Linked DNA regions of Homo sapiens: region 2 is linked to region 1. Evidence: promoter capture Hi-C in human tissues and cell types (Jung and others, 2019). All regions are on one chromosome and are shown on one strand. The core of a region is centred on a gene start or on the middle of the fragment in contact, and the rest is flanking DNA. Distances in the headings are between cores, read along the strand shown. Region 1 holds the start of EGR3 (early growth response 3). Region 2 has its middle 4.6 kb from the start of PEBP4.

Region 1 (3,736 bases), core at 919-3,418:
TTGCCGCCCCTCCCTGGCCCTCCCTGCTGCCGGGCTCTACGGCCAGAGGCCAGAGCCGCTGGCTAATTTTTCAGGCCCCCACCCCCACCCCCACCGCCTCCCTGGGTGACGCTACAGCCTGTGCGGTTCCTTTAAAGGCTGCGGGTTCCGTTCTTCTTTCCTTTTCCACTGGATGCCAAAATATGCAAATCTTGGGACCGGAATCTGCAGCCAAATCGAGAAGGAGAAGGGGCGCGGCCGGCGCGTCACCGGATCCGCTCCTTGTATGGCTCTTCCCGGCTTGGCCCGCCGCCCTGCGACCCTCCCCGCAGCCGCCCGGGCCCCTCCCGCACCTAGCCCGGCTCACACCGCCGCCCACGCCCCCCGACCGGCCGCGCGCCCCCCCTAAGGGAGGGAGCCGGGGGCGGGAGGCGCAGCCTGCCCTGATTCTGACCGGAGCGCGGGACCGCTGCAGCGCTCTCCCTCCCTGAGCCGCGCTGGCGGAGGACAGCCCGGGGGGCGCTGTGGCTCCCTAGTATAGGAGTGGGGAGCCTGGCGGGAGAGGCGGCGGGGGTGGAGAGAGGGGGCTCGCGGGAGGCGGGAATCCCTCCTTTCCTAAGAACTGGAGAAGATGGGGGGAGGCCGGGCCCTCCGGTCCCCAGCCCTCCACTGAGTGGAGGGGAGGGGAGGGGAGCGAGGTTGTCATCCACCTCCACCACAACGTGCAGCTCGGGAGTTCCTCCCACACGTCCCCGGCCCGCGTGGCCCTCCCACGGCGTGAGGCCCGGGGATCCTCTCTTCTTCCTTGTCAACACTCCCACTCCCCCCGAGAAATGCACGTTCCCCCAACCCCGACTCCCCAGGAGGGGACGAGGGATTCACCGCGCCCACGCGGCCACCGAGGAGGGAATCCTCCCCCGCCAAGCCGATGTGATTTGGGGTCGCACCCCCATGCTCCCGCCCTCTCCTCCCCCTCGCCCGCGGGCCGGCTGCGCGCGCCTCGGGAGCAGGCCCCAGGGAGCACAGCAGCCGCCCCCGGGATCTGCTGCCGCTCCGGGAGGTGAAAGCGCTCCGGGTCGGCACACAGGCCGCCCTTGACTGCGGAGCGCCGGCAGGCAGCAATGGGGACAGCCCTGTGGAAGGCGAGGGGGAGGGCAGAGACTAGGGGAGGCCCCCAGTGGCTCAGAGACTGTGGGTTCGGCGTCCTCCTTCTGGAACTCTGGCGGGCCCTTCGCAGGCAGCAGTAGACAGCGACTGCGCCCGGGCCTGCTGGGCCCTCCTGCCATCCTGTGGCCACAGAGGCTGCTTGGAACCGTTAGGGAATTTACTGGGGATTCAGTGCACGTGTTTATCTATCCCTTCAACTTCATTCTTTCCTCTTCACCACGAAAACCGCACATCCTCGACCCCATATGGATGGGGCTCTTGTCTTTGGCGCAACTGCTGGGGTGCTCCGAATCTCCTCGCCACTGCGCTCAGCCTAGAGTCAGCGCCGGGTCAGGGGCCCAGGGAGGGGCAGGGGCGGCGAATCAGAGTGAAGTTGGCACAAAAGTTCTTGGGATATTGGACCAAGGAATTCTGACAAGTTGAAACACCCCCCCAACCCTGCGCGCACCCCTCCTTCCCCCCACAAAGGGAAGCACTCCCTTTCTCTTAATCTCGGATAGGATCCCGAACGCTGGAGCCGCTGAGGTAGCAGGGGCGCAACGCACGCCTTCCGGGTTCCCCAGCAGTTCCCGGGCTGCAAAGGGATTTCGCCAGATGTTTTCAACTCTCTTTCTAACTGCTGGGGTGTTGGAGACCACTTGCAAACAACCCCACCCCACCGCCCACCTCTCCCCAATGCGCTCTCCTAACGCAAACCTCAAATAAACACACACAATGAGTTACTGGTGTTTCGACTCCACGCTACGCGCTTTGCGCTTTGCATGCAGCTGTATCCTTCTTTCCTCTCTCTTCTCGCATTCTTCTTGTTTCTTCTCCCCTTCTCTTTTTTTCAAGAGCCGCGAGCGGTGCGGGCGCCGCACGTTGGCTGCGGCCCGCTTCCTGCTTTCTAATGTTCCATTGTGAGGAGCTTCCATTGTGACGTCGCGCCCCTTCGGCTGGGCTTTGTCTGTCCATATATGGGCAGCTACGTCACGGAGCTTTCCCGGGGCTCAGATAAATAGGCTGGTGGAGTTCCCTGGCTGGGAGCTTTTGGGCAGCAGTGAGCTTGCTAGGAAGCGGCGGGGCTGGTGGTGGTGGTAGCAGCGGCGGCAGCGGCGGCAGAGGCGGCGGCGGCGGCGGCGGCGGCGGCGGCGGTGGCGGTGGCGGTGGCGGTGGCAGATCGGGGGGCGGGGGGGCGGCGGGCGCGTGTCTGTTTGTGAGATCAATACTGAGGCCGCGTCCGACCCCCTTGAGCCGAGATCCCCCCCCAGCCCAGCCCCCACCCCACCCCCCGCACACGCCCCACCCCCCCCACGACCCAGCCTCATACCGCACCAGCTGAGGCACCCAAGAGGATTACCCCCTGGGGCCCTCTCCCGCCCCCCAAAAAAGAGAAGATCCCCTCTCCTGGCCCATCCCTTCCCTTCTTCCCTCCCCCCTCCCCCCGAACTTTCCCTCTCGCATGCTTTTCCCCTGCACCACGGATCGCCTCTCGGATGCCGCTTGCCTGGAAGCTGCGTTAGGAGCGAGCGGCGGCGGTGGCGGCGGTGGCGGCGGCGGCGGCAGCTCGGGAGTGCTATGACCGGCAAACTCGCCGAGAAGCTGCCGGTGACCATGAGCAGTTTGCTAAACCAACTGCCTGACAATCTGTACCCCGAGGAGATCCCCAGCGCGCTCAACCTCTTCTCCGGCAGCAGCGACTCGGTAGTCCATTACAATCAGATGGCTACAGGTAAGGGCGGCGGGGAGGCGGCGAGGCAGCGAGGAAGGAAGGGGAGAGGAAGAGGAGGAGGGGACGACCTGGTGATGGATGGATGGATGGATGGATGGATGGATGGATGGATGGGTGGATGGGTGGATAGATAAATGGATGGAGAGATGGGGGCGCGCTGGGAATTTTGCGGGGGGCGAGTTGCTTTTCCCACCCACTCCTCCCGCCCTCCTCGATCGAGAAGGCTAGGTTGGCGACGCCACGGTAGAGGCTTCGGTTCTCCCGGGTGGGGGCAGCCGCCGACCGGAGGGAGGTAGGTGCGAGCGGCTCTGGGGTTCTCCCTCACCACGCAGGGGGCCCGATCGCCGGGCTACGCGCAAGGCGTGGTGCTGTCGCCCTCTTCCCGGGAGGAGCCCGGCGTCTTTTTCACCCGCGCTCTCCCCCCTTACTCCCTCAGCCTCCCACCCGGGATGGAGCCATGTGCGGCGTGGAGTCCCCGCGGTGGGAGAGGTACTGCGACGCTGCCTTTCCGGGGCGTTCAGCAAAGCCGTGGGGGTGTGGGGACGGCGGGGAGAAGGAGGGGGTTCACCCGCGGGGCGAGGGCCTGCCACGGGGAACGATCCCGGGGCCGGGGAGCTGGGGAAGGGCGGCCTCTCCCGCCATGGAGACACCGGCCGGTTTTCCGCCGCTCTCCACCCTCCCTAGCTGGGGCTAGGATTTTCCCCTCCAGCAAGAGCCTAAAGCTCCTTCATGCCCGAGGAGGCTGGGGCCGGGGTAGGTGAAGGGAGAGCTCCCTTTGAGGGCGACACCCTTCTACGCTCCGAGGACAAAGCGTCGGAGCGCTCTGGGTCGGCGACCCGGGAGCAGCGCGCGTGGGGGGCATCGCCGGGGAGGGAAAGG
Region 2 (3,870 bases), core at 523-3,022, 240 kb before region 1:
ACATCCTAAAGTTATAATGATCTAATTTGAATTGATACTAACTTAACTTCAATTGCATACAAACATTTTACTTATACAGCTCCGTGCCCCCCATTTTGTGTTACCGATGTTAGAGTTTACATTATTATATACCCACTAACAAAGATTTATAATTATTTTATTCATTGTCTTTAAATCCTGTGCTATAATTTAGATATTTGTGCCCCGCAAAACTCATGTTGAAATTTGATCCCCAATATTGGAGGTGGGGCCCAATGGGTGGTGTTTGCATCTTGGGGGCAGACCTTTCATGAATAGAATGCAGTTCCAGGGGAGTGCATTCTCACTTTATTAGTTCCATGAGAACTGGTTGTTAAAAAGAGCCTGGCACCTCCCATTTCTCATTCCTGCTTTCTATTTCACTGTGTGATTTCTGCACACTCCAGCTTCCCTTTCCCTTCTAAAATGAGTGGGAAAAGGCTGAGGCTTTTACCAGATGCCCAGTCTTCCGGCCAGCAGAATTGTGAGCCAAATAAACCTCTTTATCAATTATCCAGCCTCAGGTATTCATTTATAACAGCACTAAATGGACTAAGACATCCTGTATTTAAAAGTGGAATTACAAACCAAAATTCCAACAATACTGGCTTTTTAATTTGCTGTGTGTTTACCTCAAACAAAGATCTTGATATATTTCTTCACCTAGTTTCAGCTTACTGTCATCTTTTCATTTCAACCTGAAGATCTACTTTCAGCATTTCTTGCAGGGCAGTGCTGGTGGTAATCAACTCCCTAAGCTTTTGTTTATCTGGGACTTTCTTAATTTCTCTCTTACTAATATTTTGGAAGATACTTTTGCTGGACATAGAATTCTTAATTGACAACTTTTCTTCTTTCAGTACTTTATATCATCCCAATGCCCCCTGGGCTTCAAAGTTTCTGCTGATAAATTGGCTGATAATTTTATTGAGGATCCCTATACATGATGAGTCTTCTCTCTTATTGCTTTCAAAATTCTCTCTTTGTCTTTGGCTTCCAACAGTTTGATTCTAATATGTCTCAGCGTAGGTCTCTTTGAGTTTATTTTACTTGAAATTCCTTGAGCTTCTTGGGGCTTTAGATGGTCTGTTGTATGTCTCAACTGTAATCTTTGTCTTCAGTGTCTGAAGGTCTGTAGTCGGTCTGCTGGTTTCATAAGCAATGCTTCCCCTTTTCCCTTAGGCAAAGCAGAGACTACTCCTGCAAGTGGACCCCAGACAGATTAGAGCATTGCACATGATGGGTCTGGCTCTCCTTCTTTGAGTTTAAGGAAGAGCTGGGGCTTGAGCTACTATCTCCTCCAGACCAATACTGCTGGCAGTGGAGGTGGAACAAGGTAGAAAGAAAATGAAATTTCCAACCTTTTTTTTTTTTTTTGGAGACGGAGTCTTGCTCTGTTGCCCAGGCTAGAGTGCAGTAGTACGATCTTGGCTCACTGCAATCTCCGCCTCCTGGGTTCAAGTGATTCTTCTGCCTTAGCCTCCCAAATAGCTGGGATTACAGGTGCCTGTCACCATGCCTGGCTAATTTTTGTATTTTTAGTAGAGATGGGGTTTCACCATGTTGGACAGGCTGGTCTTGAACTCCTGACCTCAGATGATCTGCCCATCTCAGCTTCCCAAAGTACTGGGATTACAGGCATGAGCCACCGTGTCTGGAAAAATTCCTATTATTTTGAAGGAGGCTTTTAAAAATTTTTTGAGACAGGGTCTCCTTCTCTCACCCAGGGTGCAGTTAAGGAGGCTTTCCTTGATTAGGCATTTACTTGGCTGCTCTAACCTTTGGCTGTTTTCCAGAGCTTCTATAAAGTTAGTTCATCCAATTCTCTGTCTCTCTGGGGGTGTGTGTGTGTGTGTATATGTGTGTTTAGCTTTCCATGAGGGAACAAGAGCTTGGAGCTTCCTAATCATCCATTTTGCTGACATCCCCAGGATGACTTTTTTTAAACAGCTTTATTGCTATATGCTCCACTTATCTCACAATTCATAAATTTTGAAGTGTATAATTCAGTGGTTTTTAGTATATGTATAGATATGTGCAACCATCACATAGGCAATTTCAGAACATTTTCATCACCTTTAAAAGAAACCTCATACCCTTTAGCTATCATCCCCATACCTCTCATTCACGTCTTATCCCACCTCCACCTCCAGCCTTAGCAACCACTAGTCTACTTTCTGTCCCTGTGTATTTGCCTATTCTGGACATTTCATATAAATGGAATCATACAATATGTCCTCTTTTGCGACTGGCTGCTTTCACTTAGCACAGTGTTTTCCCCCATGGCTCCTGGGCCCCACCCTGGGCTCTGTAGAAGGCACAGGATACTGAGAGTAGAGTGGGAGCAGGATTGCATGACGGAGTAGCCAGATTACTGGACTGTTCCAAATTTGAAGTTGCATCCAACAGCTGCAATGCGAAGATAAGGGCGAAGAAATTGAAGATGTTAGCAAGTGAATAGTACAAAGGTTTGTAAGACCCAGGTACCAGAGGGAAGGTAGTCAGAATAGGTAAGGAAAAAGGAGAGTGGTCGAGGGACCAGAGTTTAGAATCAAATGAAAGACTAAGTGCAGAGAAGTAACAAGAGGGTAGAGGAAGGAGAAGAGATGGTGATCAGAAGAGCTGCTTGAAATTAGCTGGGCATAGTGGTGCGTGCCTGTAATCCCAGCTACTTGGAAGGCTGAGGCAGGAGAATCACTTGAACCTAGGAGGCGGAGGCAGCAGTGAGCTGAGATCATGCCACTGCATTCCAGCCCCGGTGACAGCGAGACTCCACCTAAAAACAAAAACAAAAACAAACAAAAAAAACTGCTTGAATTTAATATTTTAGGGATGGAGCAATTTGTAGTGATGAAAATGTCCAAGAAAGTGGTCATGGGAAGGGAGGCTGGAAAAGAGGGAGGGGAAAATGTTGGTAGAGGCATCCAAAATAGGCAAATTCATAGAGACGGAAAATAGATTAGGGTTGTCAGGGGCTGGGGGTAGGGAGGAATGGGGTGTTACTGCTAATAAGTACAGGACTTCTTTTAGGTTGATGAAAATGCTCTGTACTTTGGTAGTGATGGTTGCACAAGCTTGTGAACATACGAAAACTCACTGGATTATATATATTAAAAGGGTGAATTTTATGTGTGAATTATATCTCAATTAATTTTTAATTAGGAATCAATGAAAAGAATTCAGGGGAATTTGTTCACTACAGTTCAGAGATTCCAGAGGGCCTATGTGGAAAGGTTTAGGAGGGAGAGAAATAACAAGAGTCTGTGTCTGGGTAGAGAAATGAAGTGAGGCCTAGGCAGTGATTGGAGGGTGTCAGGCACAGGAGGCCTGGAGGGATAAGAAGGGAGTGAAGAGTTTCAGCAGCAGTGGTCCAACAGATCCCAGTAGCTGGAGGGACCAATGTGTCTCAGGAAGCCACAGGTTTGGCTTGAATGGTGGTGTCTGGAGGTGGTCCCAGCCCAGGTAACTGAAGGAAGAGAGGGGGACTTCAAGGGTGGGCACCAAGAAATCTAGCAATGGGACTTTCCAGGAGCCGGGGTGGTGATGGGGAGGGAGAATTGTCACTCCGCAAGCTTGAACACGGCTTTCAGATCTTAGGTTTCAAGTATGAATCAAAGTCCTGAAAATCCCCAAGAGAAAGATCAGGTTTGAAAAATCCCGAGAACCACTGCATTCTGCCAGATCTCTCTGCACAAAAACAAGCCAGAGAAGGTTAGATAAATAAGCAAAAGGCATCCAGGGCTAAGGGCCAACCTGAGTGATTAGTTTCCTACTGATGTTTGTACAGAGTTAAGACCTGTTAAGTGAAAATGAGGATGATCAGAAACGGAAGTGGCGTGTGTCATGCACTTA

The links. Contacts are between HindIII fragments. The study calls those that stand out against the background at their distance.
Region 2: a fragment that was not itself captured here is called in contact with the fragment with the promoter of EGR3 in region 1 in 2 of the 25 tissues and cell types used here (heart left ventricle and liver).

Annotation. Positions count from the first base shown.
Region 1 is chr8:22,691,912-22,695,647 of GRCh38, reverse strand. It overlaps EGR3 (early growth response 3), which reads left to right and starts at 2,168. Exons shown (of 2, transcript NM_004430.3): 1 at 2,168-2,857. The coding sequence starts at 2,704. LOC105379321 (a long non-coding RNA gene) reads right to left here and starts at 791. Exons shown (of 3, transcript XR_001745832.2): 1 at 434-791; 2 at 116-204. RefSeq lists silencers at 1-96, 877-1,096, 1,979-2,142, 2,087-2,206, 3,069-3,138 and 2 more and enhancers at 1,207-1,306, 1,347-1,456, 1,289-1,934. The HindIII fragment of the contact is 10,174 bases long and covers 1-3,736 here.
Region 2 is chr8:22,930,531-22,934,400 of GRCh38, reverse strand. It overlaps a transcript of PEBP4 not described here. Among named protein-coding and RNA genes, the nearest start is that of PEBP4, 4.6 kb to the right of the region's middle. The HindIII fragment of the contact is 4,297 bases long and covers 1-3,870 here.